Regions from separate parts of the Homo sapiens genome. Here region 1 is linked to region 2. The links are contacts of gene promoters, found by promoter capture Hi-C in human tissues and cell types (Jung and others, 2019). All regions are on one chromosome and are shown on one strand. Each heading gives the region's core, a stretch centred on a gene start or on the middle of the fragment in contact. The rest is flanking DNA. Distances are from core to core; before and after follow the strand shown. Region 1 overlaps WDR41 (WD repeat domain 41). Region 2 holds the start of PDE8B (phosphodiesterase 8B).

Region 1 (5,548 bases), core at 654-3,153, 260 kb after region 2:
TCTGTTCTAATGGATTTTTTACCCCTTTATGAGATAACAAAATCCCACTATTTCAGTCATGAAATACTTTCCTTAACACTCCAAACTGAGTTTCATGTTCAAATTTCTTATCTTCAGTTTCAAAGTTCAGTGCCTTCACTGGCTCAGACAATTCCAATACTCAGTTCTTATTTCAAAATCCTTTGAGTACATCTACTACTGGTAGAACCAAGATTATTCAGGAGACATGAAATTGATCAAATACAGTCTGACAGTCTTTTAATAATTTTTAAATACAGAACTACCTATCTTTTTAACAGAATGGACCTGTTAAATTTAGGTAACTAGCTAAAAATCACAAAGAGTTATTTTTAAATCCATGCCTATCATTTATTCTTATTTTAAAATGTAACATATAAAAGATCCGGAGATTAAAAAGAAAATGATCATTTTTAAAATAAAAATAGATTTCCTATGCTTAATTATCTACATTTTCTCAATCAGATTAGTAAATAGTACCTTGAATATCAAAAATAGTTGCTGGAAATAAATCTTTAGCAGCTTATGTTTCTGGGCCTATTGATTTCTTTTTATTTGTATAGTGATGGTGGGGAGGGCAGGACTCAAGGTCTTAAGTGTTCTTTGGTATAAAACATCAATTTCTATTGATTCTTTAAACTTAAAATTGCATTTAGAAGACAGCAAGTTTAAAATACATACTTTTTTTCTAACCCTAATTTTTAACTTCTTATGATTGTTTTATCATGTTTGACTTTCATGAGTTCACAATGAGAGATGACTGAGAACAGCTGAGAGTTTAGAAATGGGATATAGAGCATTTAACCTCAAACTTTAATTCAATCAGTAGGGAACAAAAGTTAAATCTAAATAAGGCTCAATAGTAATGCATGAAATCACAGTCAATTTTTTATTGCTGCAAGGTCAATTACCTGGTTGGTAGATTATTCAGGCCTTCTATTCTTATATATATTCTATTGCTACCATTTTTTTTTTTTTTTTGCCATTTCAGTATTTATTACTACCTCCCCTAAAGAGGAAACATTAAGCTTTAAAATACAAACCAGTATAACTTTGACACATATTAGTACCTGTCATAAAAAAACTAATAAAGGGTTGAGATATCATTCACAAATTACAATTACCCATCCTATTATGATGGATAACAAAAAACTAGCTATACTTTATCAGTTTATCTTAAACTAAATCCTAGTCAGTCAAGCATACACTTCAACCATCTCCAAATCAGAAATGGAAATACAACCCAAGAATTCCTAATTGTAAGGTATAGTGTAACTGCTGAAAAGAAGTAATGAACTATAAAATAAAAAAAGGATTAAAATGTCAATAAAGTTTAAGCTATTCTATCCAATGGAAGAATAGTAATATTGCCAGATAACATTTTACATACTAATTTTTAAAAACATTCTAAAGTAACAGAAAGCAAAAACTTAAGCCTAAAGATAAGATTTTGAGAGAAATGTTTCTTTACCGATTAGCAAAAAATGTATTCAGTGTGATTCCGTGCTAGGAGTTAGGGAAATGTGAAGACACCTTACATGTGGTTCTTGCTTTGAGATCTTAAAACTTTATGATTGTTTAGAAATGTACCGTATTTCATCAAATCTAAGACATCAATTGTAAGACACTCTTATTTTATTTACCATTAAGGAAAACATACTGCCAATTACAATTGAAACACACAATTATATGATGTGTCCAAATTTTAGAGATGTCAAAATAGAAAAAAATATGCTTCTTAGAATCATGAACTCTAAGAATTACCATATTTATTGATCTTTATCTTTATAACATGGCACTTGCCAGTCTAATGAATCTCTGATTATCTCTGGCAGGTTTTAAGTGCTAAAGAAATGCTTGTTGAATGAATAAGTGAATGCATAAGCAAACATTTAAGTGTTCAAGGGCTCTGTGAAATAGATTGATTAATGATGGCAATGTAACCCCATATTTTCCTTTTATCATAATTAATGTAAATATACTACCACAAAAAATAGAAACTTAAAAATTTAAAACCCAGAATCCCTACCACACAAAAATAAATTTCTATATTTTTTCATATTCCTGTCCAATTCTTATCCATATACTTCAGGTTTTTTCTTTAACTTAAAACCAAGTCCAAGATCACACCACTCTCCAGCCTGGACAACAGAGCAAGACTCCATCTCAAAAAAAACACAAAAAACAAAAAAAACCCAAGTTGTTAAAAATACTCCTTGAGACTACACAATTAAATGACTAAGCAAAACTTACATTCATGAAAAACAAGTTCAACAAGGTGAAACATGGTTTAACAAAGACCTATGGCAGACCTCCTAGAATGTTTCATCCTCTCATCCCCTAATTATGAGAACTAAATTTATTATGATAGTCCATAAGTCACTCGGTAATTCAATACTTACTAAGCACTAACTATATAGATGCTTAAACCTAAGAATAAAGATCAAGAGATTGTTCTTGCCATTCAAGAACTCACAGTCCAACATTACCATGTGATGCTATAGGGTCTAGATCATGAGTCCTTAGAGAATTCTCACTTACAACCATCTTAATGTATAAAAATAATTCCCTCTAAACATCTTCTCTTTGAACATCTCTGAGAAAGTATTCTCTCGTTCCTTCCAACAGTGGGCTGAAAACTACAGCAAAGCTTAATAAAGATTTGTAAAAAATAAATTGTTTTCACAATAATTCTTATGTCCAATAGCTAAATGCTCATTTAATAGTTCTTACTCATGTGAAGGCCTTTCAACTAAGTGAAGGTCCCAAAAATTCAAATGTTACCTTAAAGGACATAAAAAGTATAGTCCATAAACCTGAACCATAAATCTTCCTGTATTCAATGTCTACATAAGGCACTGAAAAAATAAAAATCTTAATACGACATTATTATGGCAGTACAGGCACCCCAGTGGTTAACTTTCCACCTAACCTGCAAGTACTTTCTAATGCATGATAAAACTAAAATACTATACAGTTTCCATGATCATCTCATCATTTTTTTTGTACAGTAAGACGCAGGATCTAAATAAGGTCTATATAGCACAACTGCTTGATATATCTCTAAAGTCTCTTTTTTCTATGGTTTTGTTCTCCATCTTTTTCTTCCTTGCAATCTTTTTGTTGAAAAAAGTTGTCTCTCTTCAACCCAAATGTCTATCAATGATAGACTGGATTAAGAAAATGTGGCACATATACACCATGGAATACTATGCAGCCATAAAAAGGGATGAGTTCACGTCCTTTGTAGGGACATGGATGAAACTGGAAACCATCATTCTCAGCAAACTATCGCCAAGGACAAAAAACCAAACACCACATGTTCTCACTCATAGGTGGGAACTGAAGAATGAGAACACTTGGACACAGGAAGGGGAACATCACACACCAGGGCCTGTCGTGGGGTGGGGGTAGGGGGGAGGGATAGCATTAGGAGACATACCTAATGTAAATGATGAGTTAATCGGTGCAGCACACCAACACGGCACATGTATACATATGTAACAAACCTGCATGTTGTGCACATGTACCCTAGTTGTCTCTCCTGTATAATTCTCACAGCCCAGATTTTGCTGACTACTTTCCTCTGTTGTCATCTAACATGCACCTCTGTATTCTGTATTTTTAGAAAACTGATCCTTAAATCTACAGACTTAATCCAATTCAAATCTGACTCTTTGGTAAGACCATTTCATAAGCAGTTTGTATACTCCATTAGGAAACAAATTTCTGGCAGTCATTTTTGCGTGTGTGTGATGTTAACACCCATCAATAATCACTGCCTGAAGTCATTATTACATTTACAATAAAATAACATTGAAAAAATGCTAAGGGTATCAGTGATGGAAGATCAAATGAATGAAATGAAGTGAGAAGAGAAATTTAGAGAAAAAAAGGATAAAAAGAAACAAAGCCTCCAAGAAATATGGGACTATGTGAAAAGACCAAATCTACGTCTGATTGGTGTAACTGAAAGTGACAGGGAGAATGGAACCAAGTTGGAAAACACTCTGCAGGATATTATACAGGAGAACTTCTCCAATCTAGCAAGGCAGGCCAACATTCAGATTCAGGAAATACAGAGAACGCCACAAAGATACTCCTCGAGAAGAGCAACTCCAAGACACATAATTGTCAGATTCACCAAAGTTGAAATGAAGGAAAAAATGTTAAGGGCAGCCAGAGAGAAAGGTCGGGTTACCCACGAAGGGAAGCCCATCAGACTAACAGCAGATCTCTTGGCAGAAACTCTACAAGCCAGAAGATAATGGGGGCCAATATTCAACATTCTTAAAGAAAAGAATTTTCAACCCAGAATTTCATATCCAGCCAAACTAAGCTTCATAAGTGAAGGAGAAATAAAATACTTTACAGACAAGCAAATGCTGAGAGATTTTGTCACCACCAGGCCTGTCTTAAAAGAGCTCCTGAAGGAAGCACTAAACATGGAAAGGAACAACCGATACCAGCCACTGCAAAAACATGCCAAATTGTAAAGACCATCGAGGCTAGGAAGAAACTGCATCAACTAACAAGCAAAATAACCAGCTAACATCATAATGACAGGATCAAATTCACACATAACAATATTAACCTTAAATGTAAATGGGCTAAATGCTCCAATTAAAAGACACAGACTGGCAAATTGGATAAAGAGTCAAGACCCATCAGTGTGCTGTATTCAGGAAACCCATCTCATGCACGGAGACACACATAGGCTCAAAATAAAGGGATAGAGGAAGATCTACCAAGCAAATGGAAAACAAAAAAAGGCAGGGGTTGCAATCCTACTCTCTGATAAAACAGACTTTAAACCAACAAAGATCAAAAGAGACAAAGAAGGCCATTACATCATGGTAAAGGGATCAATTCACAAGAAGAGCTAACTATCCTAAATATATATGCACCCAATACAGGAGCACCCAGATGAATAAAGCAAGTCCTTAGAGACCTAGAAAGAGACTTAGACTCCCACACAATAATAATGGGAGACTTTAACACCCTACTGTCAACATTAGACAGATCAACAAGACAAAGTTAACAAGGATATCCAGGAATTGAACTTAGCTCTGCACCAAGCAGACCTAATAGACATCTACAGAACTCTCCACCCCAAATCAACAGAATATACATTCTTCTCAGCATCACACCACACTTATTTCAATATTGACCACATAGTTGGAAGTAAAGCACTCCTCAGCAAATGTAAAAGAACAGAAATTATAACAAAATGTCTCTCAGACCACAGTGCAATCAAACTAGAACTCAGGATTAAGAAACTCACTCAAAACCGTTCAACTACATGGAAACTGAACAACCTGCTCCTGAATGACTACTGGGTACATAACAAAGTGAAGGCAGAAATAAAGATGTTCTTTGAAACCAACAAGAACAAAGACACAACATACCAGAATCTCTAGGACACATTCAAAGCAGTGTGTAGAGGGAAATTTATAGCACTAAATGCCCACAAGAGAAAGCAGGAAAGATCTAAAATTGACACCCTAACATCACAATTAAAAGAACTAGA
Region 2 (5,450 bases), core at 2,461-4,960:
AAAGGTTAAGTGACTTGCTCAAGGTTACACAGCCACAAGAGGCAGAACTCGGTTTCAGATTCACTCGTCTAACCCTGAATTCAATGTACCTTCCACTGTACTGGACTGCCTAATAAACGGTATCATTTCACTTATCAGTTGGTTAGATTTCCAATAGCTCCACCATTAGGAACACAGTTTGAATCCAGAAGCTCTGTAAGGTTGATTGGTTGATTAAATATTTGGTTATCTAAAAATCAATCAGATAGCTGCTATTGTTTTAACCTTTACAGCTAAGAATCATTCAAAATGTATTAATCACATTTTCTGCTTCTCTAGAGGAATTCTGAAGAGTCATGCCATCTTAGAATTGGAAGGGACCTTATTTGTTCAGGATCTTGCAGTGCCTGTGGGCCATAATTTTACAGTTAGCTCTTATTTAATACTATTATAAAACACACAAGCCATTCAGGTGACCCTGGACATATTGGAGGTTTTGTTTTACAATATGTTTCTGATTTAGTTTACTTTCTTTTGATTTGCTTCTTGGATATTTTCTGTTGCTAAATTTTTCTCCACTTAATTATTTTTTTAATAATGTTGGTCTTTCTGGCCTTATTCTGTAACTTAGGCCTAATTTTTATCAACAGTGTCTGAGCTTGTAGTCTTTGCTGTCACCTGGGATGCATTGAAGTGGTCAGTGGCAATTGGTTCAGAAATCTCTTCTGTGGGTCAGAACTCAGGCTTCAGAACTAAGCTGTGGAAATGATTTCAGTTAAACCATTTCCCCTCCACTTGCACACTTCTGCAAGTTTCAGCAGCCAGATCTGTTCCAGCAATGGGGGCAGGTTGCACATTCCCACTGAGAACACTTGGTGGAGATTATAAGGACACATTATTTTTTTCTTTCACTAAGCCAGAATTGGCAGTTGAAGATGTGTTTGAGCTACTGTCTGCTCTGGGAATGGGAAGAAAACTGTATACCTAGTGCATTTCCCCTTCTATCTTCTATTCCAACAAAGAAGTTGCAGTCAATGAAAGTCACTGGTCCTAATATGAACTGTTCAGTTAACCCACTAAAGCAGCCTAGTCCTATTCACTAGCTACCTTGAGGTCACCTACTCTTTCAAGGCTTAATTATTCTTATTTTTTAATGTAGAAAGTTCAACCTAAATTTGTTTCTGGGTGACTTCTAGCTTCATGATTCAGCTCCTAATGTTCTCCACCAGAAGATTGGTTGTAATTTCTGTTTCATCACAGTCTTCTTGCCTTTCAAAGCCTCAGTGAGTGACTGGTGCTTTTTTCTGGGTGGTTTCATTGCATTCCTAGAGAAAACTCTGAAAAAGTAGACATGTGTCATGAGAATATGCATGGCTGTAAATTTCAGTATGTGAAGGCTGTCATTGATAGCTCCATGAAAGGTAATGACTGAAATGCTATATGCATTATCACAGGTAAGCTTTAGGAATCATTAAACCCTGACTTGAACGTTACATCAGGGACTAGTATAGAGACTAGTGTTTTTGCAATTTAACTCTGATGTTGTTTTCCCAGGTCCTAAATTGTCCTTTGGAAGTAGAGCAGATGGTTGCTATGAGGCTTAGTTTTAAATGAATGACTGTCCCCATATCTCAGTCTCAGCCATTTAATGTGGTGTTCTTACAGGCATGGATGGGACAAGGAAACATGGATCTCAGCAGCCTGGAAGGGAACTGTGGGTGGAGGCTATGATGCCAGGAAAGGACTTACTCCTCCAGCTACTGGGAGTGCTGCCAGCAGAAAGCCCTTGGCTCAGCTGACATCTCCTAGGGGCAGTGCCTCAGCTGAAGAGAGCCACCTTGCCCAAGGTCGCTGAGGTGGCCTGCATGTAAAGACTGGTCCATGCTGGGGTATAAAGGCCCACCAGAACAACTCAGAACCCAGCCCCAACTCAGAACAACTCTGAAGCATCATCCCACCTTCAGAATCCTCCCTGCAGGGATGCCTGAGGCTTGGTCAATTTCTCCCTCTGCTCAAGCTTGCCTCCCTCCATTCCCTCCCTTTATTTCCTCCCACAAATGTTGACTACAAGAGCACTTCCTAAAAAGCCTCCCTCTGCCTGCTAAACACCATCTCAGAATCTGCTTCTAGGAGGACCCAACCTGTGCAGAAATTTTATGAGCAATTTGCCTGTCCATTAAAAAATACAGCATAGACTTTTTCCAGGTTAGCTGGAGATGGAGTTTTTTTGTATCAAAAAAAGAGAGCTAAACTGAGAAGAGAAGCAAAGGTAGAAGAATAAGGTTAGACTCTCCCTGTATAACTGAATTTGGGATTGGGAATGATATCTTGCTTCTCTATGAAATTTAGAAACTGTCTTTTGAAGTCTTCATCCAGTCACATCCAAGAGTGGTCCAGGAAGAAAAAGGAAAATAAGAATGAAAAAAAAACAAAAAACAAACCTTAAAATTGGATACTTCTTTGTGCCTTGCATTAAGCCTCTATGTTACTGCCCTTGTCCGTATAAGCAACTCTAGATAAAATCCTTTCTTAGACCATCTAATTTATCTCCCCGTGCCATTGTGAAAATCGGGCAGGAATTACTGCGGGAACCAGTGACTGAATGGGCAGTGGTGTCTCGCAGCTGTAACTCAGAGTTTACAAGGGAAGGATGAACAGCAGCCATCCTTCTAAAGGCATTCTTCCTCTCCTCCAGCACAGCTCAGTCTGTGCATGCCTCACCAAGGAGAATGAGGGAAGGCCTTGTTGACTGCCCAGCCCAGAGTGTGAGGAACAGCAGTTGACATGGGCGGCTGGACGGGATAGAAACCAGCATGAACATTTAGTGACACCTAAGGAAGAGGTGAAAATGGGGGAGAAAGCCAAGAACCATCAGACAGCTTCTTTCTGTTCTTGCCTTGGATCTTAGGGGAACGTATGTGTTCAAGGGTGCCTTCCTCCGCAGGGCCTCCCATCCCTTGGCACAAACTTCCAAACGATGAGTAGACATGGAATGGGCTTCTTCTGAAGACTGGGTCACCATCCAACTCAGCCTTCGGAGTAGGCGGTGGGGCTGGGGGAAGAGGACGGAACCATGAGGTCTCTCCATCACTTCCCGGGTGTGTTGAGAGGCAAGCAAATGCGGTGGGTGGGCCTGGGCTGTAGGGCCCCTGCCATTTCGGGAGGGGCCTCCTGGTGTTTAGCTCTGGGATGTGTGAAAATGTGTTGGTGAAAAGCGAGAGGCTTACACAGCCCTTCAGGGGAAGAGGGGCTGGGGCGCTGGGGGCGGCGTCGGGATGAGTGCAGAAGAGACGAGGCCTCTGGACAGCGGAGGAGGAGGGGAGGGCGCCGAGGCGCGGTGCCAGCTGCCGCGCACAGGGGCCCCGCGGCGGAGCCGAGCCGCGGGCACGCTCTGCCCTGTCGGGAGAGCTCCGGGAGCGGCGGGAGGGGCGGAGGGGCGCAGTGGGGCCCGGGCGGCTGCGGCCGCGGAGCCGGGGCACCTGAGGAGGAAGGAGGGTGGGAGCGAGGGAGGGAGGGGACGGGCGCAGACCGAAAGTGGGGAAAGAAGGTGCAGGCAGGCGGGCAGGCGGGCGGGCGCCCTGGCCCAGGGCCGCGGGTGCGGGAGCCCGGCGAGGTCGAGCTGGGCGGCGGCGGGGGCCGCGCCGAGGGAGGAGGGGAAGGCGGAGGCGCGGGGAGCGTGTTTGGGGCGCCGCGGCGGGGAGGGTGGCGGCCGCTGGTGCGCGCGGGGCGCTGTGTATGCGCGCTCCCCCGCTCGGGGAGGAAGATGGCCCAAAAGGGAAAGTTGGGGTGACGCGCGCGGTCCCCGGAGGCTCGGCGGGGGGCACCGCGGCCAGCCCGACGGAGCGGCGGACACACAGGCCGGGGGGCGCGCAGTCCGGGCGCCGCCGCGGCCGCCCCCTCACTGCAGGTGGCAGCGGGTGCGCTGGGTCCCGGCGGCCGCGGGCGCGGGCGGGCGCGCGGGGGAGCCCGGCCGAGGGATGGGCTGCGCCCCCAGCATCCATGTCTCGCAGAGCGGCGTGATCTACTGCCGGGACTCGGACGAGTCCAGCTCGCCCCGCCAGACCACCAGCGTGTCGCAGGGCCCGGCGGCACCCCTGCCCGGCCTCTTCGTCCAGACCGACGCCGCCGACGCCATCCCCCCGAGCCGCGCGTCGGGACCCCCCAGCGTAGCCCGCGTCCGCAGGGCCCGCACCGAGCTGGGCAGCGGTAGCAGCGCGGGTTCCGCAGCCCCCGCCGCGACCACCAGCAGGGGCCGGAGGCGCCACTGCTGCAGCAGCGCCGAGGCCGAGACTCAGACCTGCTACACCAGCGTGAAGGTAAATGCCCCGCGCTGGCACACGCCGTGGGGGCCGTCCGCCCCGTCGGCGGGGCTCGCACGGGTAGGGGGCTCCGGCGGAGTTGGGTGACCGTGAGGCGGTTGGTTTGGAGAGGTTGTCACTAAGGAGGAGTTTACTTTTCATTTGTGGAGATGATGGGAGCCCAGGAAATGTGGTCAGAAAAAGGCCCCTGGAGGGGTCCTGGAAGCGTCCTTAGCTGGTCCTGGGGGACTGGGCGGGGAAGGGAGCGCAGAAGGAAGCAGGTGGGCTGGCCTGTTCCTCCTTGAGGGCAGGAAGGCTGTGGCTTGGTTTATGCAGGAAGAGGGGTGGGGACCATTGAGAGCATTCGGTGGCCAGTCCTGTTGAATGAAATCTGAGCACTGAGCTGGATTTGCGTGCCTTGTAGGTGACTGGTGCAGTTGCAGCACCAGGATAGATAGTGCCCCATATTCCGATTTTTACCTGGGATTACCAGCCAGGCTGGAGTCTCAGCACAGGAACCGAGCGTAGGGATTTGTGAATGAATGAGTGTTCGTGTTTTAAGAGATGTGGGAACGGAGCAGAGTGGAACCTGTTGTTTGTCACTGTAACGTTTCTCTGGGTTGGCTGCATCCTAGACAGAATTGAGAGAACCGGGCCATGAGTTCGGAGTGTCAGCAGAGCCACCGTGAGGGGACGTGGTTTCCAGTGCAGTACAGCTGTCTGAGGATGATTCTGCACATACAACTGATCTTCCCAGAGAGTGGGATTTTGAGGAAGTGGAAAAAATTGTTTAGATGGTTAAAGCAGTCGCTAAATATTTATTTCTTAAAGACAGAAGAAAAATAATTATTTAAATAGTGTCCTCCCGTATGTTCTCAAAGTACCGTTAAATCCAAGAGGCTTTTCATTGTGTAAATCTGGGCACTGGGTCTTTTTTCCTTTCAGCAAACAAGATAACAATGGCATATCCTATTGTACAGAGAGAAAAAAATACTCCTAATGTCAGATAGAATCACAGCCTTTACCTGGTCAATAGGTTACCAAGAACCATTCCATGGATTATTTGTCAAAGACACATTTGTATTTTTAATAGTTAAAAACTTGGTCTTCATTGGATGAAGGCAGCCCACAGTGGAGGAGTGAGGAGAAGGATAACATGTTTTGGCTTCAATC

What was found. Contacts are between HindIII fragments. The study calls those that stand out against the background at their distance.
Region 1: a fragment that was not itself captured here is called in contact with the fragment with the promoter of PDE8B in region 2 in 3 of the 25 tissues and cell types used here (aorta, dorsolateral prefrontal cortex and heart right ventricle).

The regions. Positions count from the first base shown.
Region 1 is chr5:77,465,824-77,471,371 of GRCh38, forward strand. The region is part of intron 2 of WDR41 (WD repeat domain 41); the gene reads right to left. Among named protein-coding and RNA genes, the nearest start is that of WDR41, 24 kb to the right of the region's middle. The HindIII fragment of the contact is 3,217 bases long and covers 296-3,512 here.
Region 2 is chr5:77,206,970-77,212,419 of GRCh38, forward strand. It overlaps PDE8B (phosphodiesterase 8B), which reads left to right and starts at 3,711. Exons shown (of 22, transcript NM_003719.5): 1 at 3,711-4,295. The coding sequence starts at 3,957. The HindIII fragment of the contact is 4,534 bases long and covers 1,718-5,450 here.